3 separate regions of the Homo sapiens genome follow, and regions 1 and 3 are each linked to region 2. Evidence: promoter capture Hi-C in human tissues and cell types (Jung and others, 2019). All regions are on one chromosome and are shown on one strand. The core of a region is centred on a gene start or on the middle of the fragment in contact, and the rest is flanking DNA. Distances in the headings are between cores, read along the strand shown. Region 1 overlaps ASTN2 (astrotactin 2). Region 2 holds the start of ASTN2 (astrotactin 2). Region 3 overlaps ASTN2 (astrotactin 2).

The links. Contacts are between HindIII fragments. The study calls those that stand out against the background at their distance.
Region 1: a contact is called between a fragment that was not itself captured here and the fragment with the promoter of ASTN2 in region 2, in 2 of the 25 tissues and cell types used here (mesendoderm cells and thymus).
Region 3: a contact is called between a fragment that was not itself captured here and the fragment with the promoter of ASTN2 in region 2, in 3 of the 25 tissues and cell types used here (dorsolateral prefrontal cortex, heart left ventricle and mesendoderm cells).

What each region holds. Positions count from the first base shown.
Region 1 is chr9:117,188,601-117,191,409 of GRCh38, reverse strand. The region is part of intron 3 of ASTN2 (astrotactin 2); the gene reads left to right. Among named protein-coding and RNA genes, the nearest start is that of SNORA70C, 8.8 kb to the right of the region's middle. The HindIII fragment of the contact is 6,473 bases long and covers 1-2,809 here.
Region 2 is chr9:117,413,731-117,416,436 of GRCh38, reverse strand. It overlaps ASTN2 (astrotactin 2), which reads left to right and starts at 1,380. Exons shown (of 23, transcript NM_001365068.1): 1 at 1,380-1,940. The coding sequence starts at 1,499. The HindIII fragment of the contact is 9,596 bases long and covers 1-2,706 here.
Region 3 is chr9:117,169,971-117,172,670 of GRCh38, reverse strand. The region is part of intron 3 of ASTN2 (astrotactin 2); the gene reads left to right. Among named protein-coding and RNA genes, the nearest start is that of SNORA70C, 9.9 kb to the left of the region's middle. The HindIII fragment of the contact is 7,792 bases long and covers 1-2,700 here.

The DNA.
Region 1 (2,809 bases), core at 78-2,577, 220 kb after region 2:
TTACTAATTTTTTCTGTCTTTTCCCTTTTATATATTGAAAGTGAAAAATTATTGTTTTCTATCTTGCATTTTTATTTAATATTATACAATAAGTATTTCAACATGCATGTAATTCTATCTCATGACTGCTTCATAATGTATTTATTGATGGACATTTTAGCAGCTTTTTTTTTTTTTTTTTTGCTATTTTGTATTCAACATCAACAACCATTTTTAGTCTTAAATTCATTTTCACTATTCTGTGTTATTTCCTCAGGGTATATTCCCAGGAGTGGAATTATTGGGTCAAATGGTCTGAATGTTTTAAAGTTCTTGATACATGTTTAGCTCAATATCTGTTGGGAAGTCTCCATACACATTTGTTAAATAAGGTAACATTTATTCATCTATTTTTCATTCATTAATTCAACAAGCTTTAATTAAGTACCTACTGTGTGTCAGGAACTATTTAAGGCACTGAAGATAAAGCAATAAATAAGATATATGCAAGTCAATTTCTATAGCAGTTTCTTTCTAGCACAGAAAGACTATAAGCAAATGAACAAAATATATGTATATATTAGATATATAATAATGAATGATAATAATTGCAATGGGGGAGAAAGAAAACAAAGGAGGGAATTAGGGCCCTCAGGAAAGGTCTTAATGATCAGATAACACATGAAAACTGATCTACAGGAGATGAAGAGGCAAGCCATTTGAATATTTGAGGAAACAGCTTTTTGGGCAGAGGGAACAGCAGGTATAAAGGTCCCTGGCACCAGTGTGATTGGAGCACTAGAGGAATAGGGAGGAGTAGCATTGAGAGAGAGAGCACTAGAATAAATTGGGTTATAGGAGCAGTGGTAAGAAAGTCATGTAGAGCCTGATAGAAAGGGACACTGACTCTTCCTGTGAGTGACATGAAAAGCCATTGGAAAATGGGGGAATGAATTTTTGCAAAGGTGGTAAACAGTTAGGGCCAAACTGAGAAGGAGTGATTTGGACATAGAGTTGCAACTCAGAAGCGAGGATACTAACGAGAGCAGAGAATAGAGATTGTACTATGGAAACTCACAGGCAGAATTTAGCCCCTACATAATGTTTTGTTTTGTTTTGTTTTTGCTTGCCTACAGGGTATATTTTTGAATTCAGTTGTTAATATATATAAATTGGAAAATTTCACATAGAAATTCACATTTCTGCCTCACTTGGTGACTGAAGGATCTCAAAACCTTAGGCCCATTCTTGTGCCTTCCAGCACTTAGCAGGAGCTGAGTGGTAGCAACTGCTTTGGAAGGGCTGCTCTCTCTACTTCATCAGGAACACCACCTGATTAAGTTCCTTAACCTAAATTCTCCCTCCTTCCTGAGAGATTGGAACTCACATCTCCCAGAGGAAGGAGAAATTGAGACAGCCCTTATGATCTGAGCAGTGGGAACCCAGAGTATACAGGAACAATGGATTCACTTCCTATTTTGTGTAGCAAGAGCGGGAGGCCTTAGGATCTTTAAGACTTTCTAGAAGGTATGTATCTTCACTCTCCATTAGTATAAGGGTAGGGATGCACAGATTAGTCTAGGAAAGGATACCACTCTCTTTCAACTCCTTGAGTTTTGTTTTACCAGCCAGGCAGAGGCTGGCAGCAGATCAGAGACCAAGAGACCTTTAAGAACTTTGACAGCAGAGGATAAAGTAGTTAAGATGCCCAACTCTTGAACCAGACACACCGGGGTCCAGTTTCACCTTACTAATACTTTTGAGATTCAACCTCCTCACCTCTAAAATGGGATTACTTGTTTTGCAGTATTCTTGTAAGAATTAAGGAAATCATATATATAAAATAGCACAGTGTTTTGACTCAAGAAATGGAAGCTATTATTGACATGTTGTCTGAAATATTCATTTCATTCAACAGAGACCCAGGGAGGGGAGAGAGGTATCTGAAGTTACACAGCAAGTTAATACTGGGTGTATGGGGGATGCAGCGTTTGTGGGGAATGGTGGCTTTGATGTGGACATTCTGTTTCTAGTCAATGCCATCTTAACGTTTCAACCACACCACTTCTGAAGGAGTTCCTTTCTATCCATGTTCCAGCCCATGCCTTTGTCTTGACTCATCATAGGAGATTGCTAAATATGTTTAAAATGAATGGGTGAATGGGCAAATGAATATATCCCTGACTGGAAGGGACTAATTTGCTGCCTAGTGGGTAGTGGGTAAACAGCAGTTCTCCTGATCCTATCTCCTGAGCACTTTTAAGTGCCGTTGTTTTCTTTCTCTACAGCTTACAATCCTCACCTTTTTTGTGTCCTTTTATAAGACATTGTTCAGGATGTAGGAGTCTCCTATCTGGGAGGTTAGGATGTCTGGCAGACAGGACCTTCTACCCACTGTCCCAGGTGGGGACAGGAGGGGACACTAGAATTATGAAGTCCTGGTGAGAATGGACGGCCATTCTCAGACTCCACGCTCTGGGGAAAGGGCACTCACTGATGCTCAGGTAGATGTAGTGCTGCCCACTGAGCATGGTTAGAGAGGCCACCGACCTGCCTGCAAATAGATAATTCCCACGGGTACCTGGCTCCCATGGGACTCTCAAAATGTGGATGCTTTTACAGTCAGTAGCCCATAGAATCATTATTCCTTGGCATTTCCAAGTCAGACATTTATTGAGTGCCCTTTCTTCTCCACATTTAAAAACTGTAGTACCTTAAACAAGTTGTTTATTCTCATCTATGCATGCTTTCTCATCCGTGGAATGAATGCTGAACCCCTGTAACTTGGCTAGAAGCCATCCTGGGTGGTTAACATCTTTGGCAGGACAGG
Region 2 (2,706 bases), core at 131-2,630:
ATTTTCAGTGCTCTGCCTTTATCCAACGTTATTAAAAAATATATGATGAGAGAGGAGAAAAGCAATTTATATGAAGGGTTAAAGATAGAAAAGGGGAATGAGACAGAAGAGGGAAGAGCTAAGAGAAAAGTGAATGCATAGAGACAGCACAAAAGGTGCAGATGGGTAAGCTAGACAGAGATGAGAAGTTGCTCACAAATTATAGGAAAGAAGCATTTGTAAGATTAAAGTCAAGATGAGAAGGAAGGAAATGAATGGAGAGATGAAACAGAAAACAGAGACAGGGAAGATGAAGAAAAGTAGGGGAGTGGGGAAGGGGCTGCACGGCACTTGACCCATGCAGAGGTGTCCGCTCCCTGGAGGGTCTCAGGTATGTGGGTCAGAGACAGAGTCAGCCCAAGACCAAAGGGTGCTGAATCTGAGGACCTAGCTCAACTTGAGTCTAGAAAGACTGCAGGTGAAGAATTGGTGAGCACTCCCGTTCTCTGGGACTTGGGCAGAGGATCTAAAAGACCCGGGAGCCAAGGACAGACAGAATAGTAGGTCTCTACCTCACACCCTTTTCAGGAATTTCACACAGAGAGCAGAAGCAGCCAAGTAGAGCTGCTCCAAGCTGGGAGCAGGGATCCAAAATAAAAAAGCGTGAGTGGGCTGGCTTGCAGGGCGGCAGCTAGGGGGCCAGAACAGCCCGGCTTCAGTCAGTTGTGGGGTCGGCGTTAGACGGTGGAGTTCGACGCCCCTCTGTCCATTAGCAATTAGTGCTAGCACAAGGCCTGGATGGAGGGGAGAGGAAGGTTTGCGGGCAGTGGGAGAATGAATGCAGGAGTTGTGGCCAAGTGGGTGGGAAGGGGGCTCTGAGGCTACAGGAAGTTATTTCAGAGACTAGAAAAGGGTAGGAGATTGGAGAAAGGACTTGTTCTTGGGCCTGAGGGGAGACAAAGTTAAGTCTTGGCTATCCAGGGGGCTCCCTATCCCCAAGAAGGCGGGGCCTTGAGCAAGGCTGGGCCAAGGCGCGCCCCCAGGTGCAGCCTCTGGGTTGAGCCGAAGGTGGGGTGAAGCCAGGAGAACTGGGTTGAGTCAGGGGGGCTTGGGGGGGCCCGAGGGGGCCCTAAGTATTAGGAATTTGGGGAGTTTAGGGAGGGGTGTTGTGGCTAAAGAATGCTGTGAGGGCGGAATTGGGGGATCTTGGGAAAGGGGAGGGAGCCACTGGGACTTGCACGAGGCCGGGCGGAGCCTCCGAAACGCTCGGGGTCTGCGGGGGGAGCCGGAGATCGGGGACGGGCGGCTGGGCCCCGGGAGGCGGCGCGGGGGGGCGGTCCAGGGCCGATCGGGAGGCGGAGCCCGGAGCTGGGGGCTGCTGGCGAGCGGCTCTCTCCGCTCCTTAGCTCGGGCGTCCTGGTTCGCTTCGGCGTCCGCCGTCTCCGCAGCTGCCTCCTCTTCCTCCTTCGCCACCGCCGCCACCGCCGCCGCCGCCCGCAGCACCGCAGCCCCTCCCGCCATGGCCGCCGCCGGCGCCCGGCTCAGCCCCGGCCCCGGCTCGGGGCTCCGGGGGCGGCCGAGGCTCTGCTTCCACCCGGGGCCGCCGCCACTGCTGCCGCTGCTGCTGCTGTTCCTGCTCCTGCTGCCGCCGCCGCCGCTGCTGGCCGGCGCCACCGCCGCTGCCTCGCGGGAGCCCGACAGCCCGTGCCGGCTGAAGACCGTCACGGTGTCCACACTGCCCGCCCTGCGGGAGAGCGACATCGGCTGGAGCGGCGCCCGCGCCGGGGCCGGGGCTGGGACCGGGGCCGGAGCCGCCGCCGCCGCCGCGTCCCCGGGCTCTCCTGGCTCTGCCGGCACCGCCGCCGAGTCGCGCCTCCTGCTCTTTGTGCGTAACGAGCTGCCGGGGCGCATCGCGGTGCAGGACGACCTGGACAACACCGAGCTGCCCTTCTTCACCCTGGGTAAGGCTGGGCGCCGGCACGCGCTAGATCCCAAGGAACCCCGAGCCCCTGCGTCATGCCGGACGGGTGGGGGCGCCCTGGGGATCCCTGCCCGGGGCTGCCCCGAGTGGGGTTGGCAGAGGGTAGAGGAGGGGCCCAGAGGTCGCACAGGTGGTTGGAAACGAGCATGTGGGAGGAGGTCCTGGAGAGCGCGCGGCGGGAGCCTGGGGGCGTGCCAACCCTCCCGCAGTGGGAACCTGCCCCTCTGCCTCTCAGTCCCGACCTGGAGCTCTGCTTGATCCATCCCGGAAGCCGGAGACCCCATTCACTGAAGGTGCTCTGGCTAGGGGCCGGAGCATCCCAGATCCTAAGCCAGTTTCAGGTCGAGCCTCCCACTTCTCCGGGTACCGTCACTGGCCACCCGCCGTCACCGCCCCCTCGCTCTCGCCTCGGAGTTGCGGGTTCTGCCCTTCCAGATGGATTTTCATGAGAGTAGGAATGGAGTAGTTCCGTGTGGAATCGCTCAACCCGCAAAAGCGTGGCTTCCGCATGGGCTGAGTGACCTTGGCCAAGTCGCTTCCCTTCTCTGAGCCTCAGTTCTGGCCATCTGTGAAATAGGGCTGGAGAGACTTGAGTGGTTGCTGAGAACTGGGATTCCGACTCCGAGGTCTCCACGTTTAGAGCCTCCCTCTACCCCCGTTACCGCCTTCCCTTTCTACCCACCTCCAGGCAGAGAGCCGGTTTGTCCTTGCAGCTCACTCCCTGGGCTAATAATAATTACTTAAAG
Region 3 (2,700 bases), core at 43-2,542, 240 kb after region 2:
CTCTGGGATTCACAAGCCACGTGACCATTCCCAGATCACATCCACCTCTCTGAGCCACAGCTGAACCAGTTCACAAATGGGGACAATGGGGACTTTCCTCTCTATATTACCTCAAGTGTGTGAGGAATGTATGAGGTGATGCATGTAGATTAATAGTCATAGCTAATTTTTAAAAGGTAACACTCAATAAAGTATATGCAGTGCATATAAATTGCACTAGACTTAAATGTATTCTTGGTTTTCTTTATGTATGCCTATACTCAAGTAACCACCACCCAGACCAACATATAGATCTGTGCCTCCCGATACAGTGGCCTTTGAAATTAAAATTAATGAAAATTAATTAAACTTAAAAGTCCAGTTCTTTGGTCAAACAAGCCACATTCTAAGGACCCGGTGGCAGCATATGCCTATTCTACAGTACCTACTGTATCACACAACATAGAATATGAACAATGTCATTGTAACAGAAAGTTCTGCTGGGCAGCCTTATGATAGAATAATTCTAGCACCCCTTATGTTTCATTTTTTTGTACCTTCCTAGACCATGTCCACCCATAAAAAGTAAACAGTACTCTGGCTTCTTAGATCATAAATTGATATTTCCTGTGCTTCATAGATATGCGATCCTACAGATGCGTTATTTTGTGTCTGCCTTCTTTTCACTCAAAACATCATGTTTGAGATTCATCCATGTTGTTGCAAGTATTGATAATTTTTTTTAATTACGATATAGTGTCCCCTTATATGAATTTACTAAAATGTATATAGTCATTCTTTTAAACACTAATGTTTAGATAGTGTATTAGTTCATTTTCACACTGCTATAAAAAGTGCCCAAGGCTCGGTAATTTATAAAGGAAAGAGGTTTAATTGAGTCACAGTTCCACATGGCTGGGGAGGCCTCAGGAAACTTAAACTTACAATTATGGCCGAAGGTGAAGAAGGAGCAAGCACCTTCTTCACAAGGCAGTAGGAGAGAGAAGAAGGAGCAAAGGGGGAAGAGCCCCTTGTAAAACCATCAGATCTCATGAGATCTCACTCACTATCACGAGAACAGCATGGGGGAAACCGATCCCATGATCCAGTCACTTCCCACCAGGTCCCTCCATTGACACATGGGGATTATGATTCAATATGAGATTTGGGTGGGGACACAGCCAAACCATATCAAATAGATTACTCCATACCAGGTACTAGGTTAGACATTTACTCAAATAACTCATTTTACATTAACACCAGTGCTTTGAGAAAAGTACTGTTATTAGTTTCATTTTATAGATTCATCCACAGAGAGGTTAAACAACCCTTCTGCAGTCACACAGCTAGGCCAGGAACCCATGCAGGCAGGGCTTTCTCTGGAGCCTTTACTCTTTGGACATGACACTAACCCTGTACCTGTACTCTGTGAGGCATTGCATACCTGCAAATGTTTCAGTTAGTTGGGCAAAGGAGAATATTTCTATTCTGTGCTTCCTCGTAATATTTTTTCTTTTCTTTTCTTTTTTTCTTTTGCCTTTGTTTGTTTCTAGTTTTATTTAAATTCCTCCTGCAAAGTGCTAGCATCCTGAGAAGTTAGTCCAAATTCTATGGGATGTCGCTGAGAGCTCTCATCCTTGGAGAGCTCAGGATCTCAGGATGGCATGGTTGGTGGTAATGATGCGGTTCCCAGCAACTTTGAGCCCAGCCTAGAACCATGCTGCCCTGTCACATAAAGAAGGGGCAGAACACATCTAGGCATCTGTCTCTTGGTACATGTATTTGTGGAACCTAATGTGGACAATGGATACGATACCTGGCAAGGTATGGCTTGCTTATATTAGTATGTGGGAAAAGCAGAGTTGTTTTGCAAAATCAAATCACTCTGCTCCCTGCCTCTTTTCTGAAGACTAAAATGAGAAATGGGATACGGCCAAGCCTGCTTCTGCCTCAAGGTGTTTCATCTGCTGTCTTCTCTGTTGGAACACTCTTCTCTTAAATACCTACCTGGCTGCTTGTGACCTCTTCAGTCTCTGCATACATGTTACTTTCCCCATAAGGTCTCCCCAGGCCTTCTCATTTTAAATAGCACTCACTCCAGCAATTCATGCTTCTTTTTCCTGCCTGATCTTTCTCTTTAGTGTTTAGCATCATCTGACAAAGCTTATATTTTACTTATTGATGCAGTTATTGCTCTCTGCCCCATTAGAAAGCATGCTTCATGCAGGTAGAAATTTTGTCTTCCTTCTTCATTGAATCCCTAGTGCCTTCATCAGTGTTGTCACCTAGCAGGTGCTCAATCAATATTAATGGATGAATACATTAATTAATAGATAAGTTCTGAAGAAGATTGCAACTGAGGTCATATAAGGATGAGACACACAATGGGAAACAGAGGATGTCAATGATATACAAGCACATTGTATTTGGAGTGGCTGGAAGGTGGATGCAATTGAAATTGAATTAAGACTCTCAAGCAAAGGAAAGGAAGTATGAGATTTATTTAGTGCCTACTATGTGCCAAACTGAATCTTATTACTATTAAATACTTGCTATTTAATGATTATATGCAGTGTGTCTAGCAGTTCACATGAATTTTCATATTTAGTCCTCACAATGACCTTCCCCAAGAGGTATAACCACACCTGTGTCATGAAGAGATGACCATGCTCATGATCACAGAGGTAGGATGTGCTGGAACAGGGATTCAAACCCAAGATA